Regions from separate parts of the Homo sapiens genome. Here region 2 is linked to region 1. Evidence: promoter capture Hi-C in human tissues and cell types (Jung and others, 2019). All regions are on one chromosome and are shown on one strand. Each heading gives the region's core, a stretch centred on a gene start or on the middle of the fragment in contact. The rest is flanking DNA. Distances are from core to core; before and after follow the strand shown.

What was found. The method cuts DNA at HindIII sites, captures the fragments that hold promoters and counts their contacts. A contact is called where the count stands out against the background at its distance.
Region 2: a contact is called between a fragment that was not itself captured here and the fragment with the promoter of ZNF285 in region 1, in 2 of the 25 tissues and cell types used here (IMR-90 fibroblasts and hippocampus).

Annotation. Positions count from the first base shown.
Region 1 is chr19:44,400,280-44,402,979 of GRCh38, forward strand. ZNF285 (zinc finger protein 285) reads right to left here and starts at 1,329. Exons shown (of 4, transcript NM_152354.6): 1 at 1,289-1,329. RefSeq lists an enhancer at 726-1,482. The HindIII fragment of the contact is 9,713 bases long and covers 1-2,700 here.
Region 2 is chr19:44,200,952-44,203,741 of GRCh38, forward strand. No RefSeq gene overlaps it. Among named protein-coding and RNA genes, the nearest start is that of ZNF227, 10 kb to the right of the region's middle. The HindIII fragment of the contact is 7,900 bases long and covers 1-2,790 here.

The DNA.
Region 1 (2,700 bases), core at 79-2,578:
GCCCATATCAACTTCTTCAGGGAATGAAGACCTAGAGGAAAAGTGCAGCTGAATCTGGAACTGCAATTGCCCAGAAACACGATCAGAAATGTAATAAATGCTGCTATTACACCTAAAATAATTAACACTAAATCTCTAACTTTATCAAATATACAGAGAGTGTTCAAACTTCAAATTTGTTGAGTGTAATTTAACAACTTATATTTGCTAATGTGCTTTATAATACTCAAAGTCCCTACTCCCTGGCTCACAGCATGTGAGGTGAGAATGGAGTTAATAATTTGGGGCAGTTCTTTTCTTTTCTTTTTTCTTTGAGACAGAGTCTGGCTCTGTCGCCCAGGCTGGAGTGCAGTGGCGTGATCTCAGCTCACTGCAAGCTCCGCCTCCCGGGTTCACGCCATTCTCCTGCCTCAGCCTCCCGAGTAGCTGGGACTACAGGCGCCTGCCACCGTGCCCGGCTAATTTTTTGTAATTGTTTTTTGTAGTAGAGACGGGGTTTCACCGTGTTAGCCAGGATGGTCTCGATCTCCTGACCTCGTGATCCGCCCACTTTGGCCTCCCAAAGTGCTGGGATTACAGGCGTGAGGCACCGCGCCAGGCCTGGGACAGTTCTTTTCAAAATGTATTCGGTGACATTAAACTCTGGAGTTATTACAGTATTACAGTCTGAGTTGTTTCTTTATTGCCAAAAGCCAGAACCTCTGCCTTGAAGTCATAAATGCCCCAATGGAGTCAGAGCTGCCAAAATCCAGAGTTCAGACCCAAGACAACTCCCCATCCAAGAACCTAGGGGTGCTGAGCCAGAATCGCCCCCACCAAACTGAGCGAGAACAGCCGAAGCCATCCTCTATATCCAGAGACTAGCTGCTTAAGCAAATCCCTCATCCCATTCAGGGACGCACAGTCCAGCCATTACTCCAAAACCCTGAGCCAGCGCCCCTCTGCCCTCATCCAGAGATGCACATCCCAAGACTGACCCTAAGCTTCGACCCGAGGAGGCACAGCGCAAGTCGCTGTCACGAAACGTGAAGATGCACTGTTTTGTCAAACCCAGGGCTGCTCCCCAAACCGAGCCCACGCTCGAGCCCACGCTCTTCCCATCCTATCCCGGGTAGGTCGGGCCGCTGAACTTCCCTAGTCTACCCCACCTACGAGGCCTTATCATTGGTTACCAGTCCCCTCTTCCACTCCTCCTACTTCAGTCCACAGGGACGGGTCACAGCTGCACATCCTACACTCCTACTCCTGGCTACGCCTCCAAGAGGGGCGCGGTACAGACGGGACTCACCCCAGCGTCCCAAACAATGTCGCCCGCAGCGTGCGTCCAGTACCATGGCGCATGCGCAAGGAGGCCTATGGCCTACAATCCCCAGAAAGCCCCGCGCGCAGCAGTGGCCATTCGCAAGGCTACCCTGGTGAAGGTGGCCTTTGACTTCCGTGCATTTGGAAGTCCTTTGACTTCCGTGCATTCGTCTAAAATAACGACAATCATAATAACGATAAAATAATGAAATGTTAAATAAATCACTATCAACGATGAAAAGAAGTTTCAATATTTTACTACTTGGAAATGGGCACTTTACCGTTTTAGTGAAGACTTTTATAAGTTCTTATTTTATAGGCATGTCTTTTAACGTTAAAACCACGAAACTTTTCAATTAACACTCACTTAAATAATTCCCTCCCCGCCCCCCACCATGTTTTATTTCTGTTGATGAAAACTCTGGATAATCTACACTTGCGATATAACATAGCCCTGTAATTTATTTCCTAGTCTCAGAAGAAGCAGAAGGAATTAACAACTATTGTCTGAATCCTTAACAGGGGAATTGCAGGAGTACTGAGAGTGTCCTAAAAGAGACACATTACAACATAACAAGAAAACGCGGGAAGTTTTCAGATTCTTTTTGAAAATTTGCCCTTGTTGAGACTTAGGCTTTATTTTACTTCATGTTATTGCATTTAAGATTTAAGATTTCTATTAAAGAAAAATTTGGGTACCCTAAATGGGGTAAGAAAATTGAATAGGAATTCCATTAGAGGCCCACAGTTTTAGCCTGGAGGAAAGCCCTGATAACGTGTGAGAACAATCTGTCTCCTAGGAAAGGTCACCTGGTCCTGCTGGCAGAGTCTCTGTTTGGAATATCTGGCTGGCATTCCCTTTTCCACGCACCCTCAAGCTGTAGGGGTGGTGAGGCGGTTCCAGTCCTAGACTAGATAGAGAAGTGAAGACCCCCACCTCTACGCAATGGGCAGGAAATGGTTGAATAATATCCAACTATAGCTTGACATCGCAGCTTAGGGCACATAAAGGGACAGTGCAATTGTTTTGGCTTATCTCTGTCTTTTGATGTTTACATGTTTGATGTTCTTATATATTGCTCTAAGTTGAAGGATTACTTGATTTAATTTGACATACTTGAATTTTAAAAAACGAGTTCAGGAACATTTTTATTTTTGACCTAATACAAGGTTAATTTTTGTGACATCTGTGTCTGTTGGAAAACAATGTGTCTTCTCTATCAGATGGATATGCATACATTTATATTTTCCCCAGACTTGCTAACTGTGCTATTTAAATTTCCTACATGCTTATTTGTGCTTACTTAGATTTTTTCATTATGCATCTGTCAACGATTGAAAAGTGCATGTCAAAAAGGTTCCCAGTCTGGGCGTGGTGGCTCAAGCCTGTAATCTCAG
Region 2 (2,790 bases), core at 25-2,524, 200 kb before region 1:
ACGTATTCTTATATGCTCAGGATATGAATCTTTTGTCACATATATGGTTTACAAATTTTCTCAATTTGAGAATTACCTTTTCATTTTCTCATTGGTGCCTTAATTAAGAGAAGTTCTTCATTTTTAAAATAATCTAAGTCACCTAATTTTTTAAAAATTGTGGATTATTTTGGTCTCATATAATATTTTTTTCCACTTCAGGGCAACAAACAGGTTCTTTTGTTTCCCTAAGTGTCATTGCTTTACTTTCCAAAATTAGATCTGCATTTTTTCTGAAAGTTATATTTGTGAATTCTGTGAAGTACAGACGAATATATATTTTCCCATGTGGATATCTAATTGATGAAGAAGCACATATTAAAAAGAATTTTTATAATCTGTACAGTAGCATATTCTTTTCACAAATGAAATGACAGTATTTACTTTGATCTACACTCTATTCTCTTCCTTTATCTATATATCTTTAAGCAAATGCCACACTGATATTGTAGCTTTATAATATGATTAGATATCTCATAAAGTAAGTCTTCCATTTTGTTATTCTTTCACATTATCTTGACTATTCTTAGCTCTCAGATTTTACTCCAAATTTTTATAATATTTGTATCAATTTCCAGAAAAAATTCTAGTATTTTTATTGGGTTTGCATTGATATGATGGATTACTTTGGTGAAGAATATTGAGATGTTTAAAATATTAAATTGTCTATCCATAAATATTATTTATTATAATTATTTTAAAGGTTTTTTGTATATGCAGGAAAATAAAAGCAGATCTTTACCTAATAATATTTACATAGATTTCAAAAGGATTAAAGGGCCTAAATGGGAAAGGTAAATGTAGAAAGTTAATTTTTTTAATGTAGGAGAATATTCTTGAAACCTAGGACTTTCAAAAGCACAGAAATTAAGGAAAATGCTTATTAAATTTCTCTCCTCAAAATTAAGGATGCTTATTCAATGTGAGACACAGTATATGAATATTAAAATCAAGTACAGGTGCCAAGACAATTCAATGAAAAAAGAACAGTCTGTTCAACAAATAGCAAATAGTGCTAAGAAAACTGGATGTGCACATGAAAAAGAATGAAGTTGGACCCCCTACTTTACATCATATACAAAAATTAACTTATAGTGGGTAAAAGGCCTAAATGTAACAGCTAAAACTATAAACAACTAGATGAAATCATAGATATAAATCTTCATGACCTTGAAATAGGCAATGGTTTCTTAGATATGACATCAAAAGCACAAGGAACAACAAAAAATAAATGAATGAATTGGAACTCATCAAAATGAAAAACTTTTGTGTATCAGTGGATACCATCGAGAAAGTGAAGACACCAACATGGGTGAACGTATTTGTAAATCATATATCTGATGAGACTTGTAGCTAGAATACATAAATAACTCTTACAATTCAACACTTTAGAAAGACAAATAACCCAATTAAACAATGGGCCAAAGTATCTGAATAGACATTTTTCAAAAGAAGACATATAAATGCCCAATAGGCACATGAAAAGATGGTCAATGTCATAAGTCATTAGGGAAACGGAAATCAAAACAACAATGAGATATTGCTTAGCCACCAGATTGGCTACAGTAAAAAAGACAGATAATAAAAGGGTTGCCAAGGGAGTGGAGAAATTGGAACCCTCATACATTGTTGGTGGGAATGTAAAATGGTGCAATTTATTTGGCAAACAGTCTGGCAGTTTCCCAAGGGTTTAAACATAGAGTTATTATATGACTCAGCATTCCACTCCTAGATATACAACCAAGAGAAATTAAAACTTATGCCTACACATAAGCTTGTACATAAATGTTCAAAACAACATTATTAATAATAGCCAAAAGTAGAAACAATCCAAAATAGCCATTAATGAATAAATAAGATGTGATGTATTCATCCAATGGCACATTATGTAGCCATGAAAAGAAATGAATAACTGGTTCATGCACCAACATGGATGACCCTTCAACATGTTATGCTAAGTAAAGTTCGTTTCAAAAGACCACGTATTGTGTGAGTACACTGACAGAAAATGTTCAAAATATGTACATCTACAGAAAGTAGATTAGTGATTGCCTAGGGCTGAGGAGTTTGGGAAAAATTGGAAGTGACTGTTAATGGGTATCAGGTATCTTTTTGAGATTATGTAAATGTCCTAAAAATTGATTGCAGTGATAGTTGCACAACTCTCTGGATATAATAAAATTCATTTAACTGTGCTCTTTAAATGGGTAAACTGTATCCATTATATCTCAATAAAGTTTCTATAAGAAATATCAAAAAATAGCTCTCCCTCTCCCTCTCCCTCTCCCTCTCTCCCTCTCTTCCCTCCCCCTCTCCCCCCTCCCTCTCCCCTCCCCCTCTCCCCCTCTCCCTCTCCCCTTTGCACGGTCTCCCTCCCATGCCGAGCTGATACGAGGCTGGACTGTACTGCCGCCATCTCTGCTCACTGCAACTTCCCTGCCTGATTCTCCTGCCTCAGCCTGCCGAGTGCCTGGGATTGCAGGCGTGCGCCGCCACGCCTGACTGGTTTTTGTATTTTTTGGTGGAGACGGGGTTTCCCCCTGTTGGCCCCCCTGGTCTCCAGCTCCTGACCACGAGTGATCTGCCAGCCTCGGCCTCCCGAGGTGCTGGGATTGCAGACGGAGTCTCGCTCACTCAGTGCTCAATGTTGCCCAGGCTGGAGTGCAGTGGCGTGATCTTGGCTCGCTACAACCTCCACCTCCCAGCCACCTGCCTTGGCCTCCCAAAGTGCCGAGATTGCAGCCTCTGCCT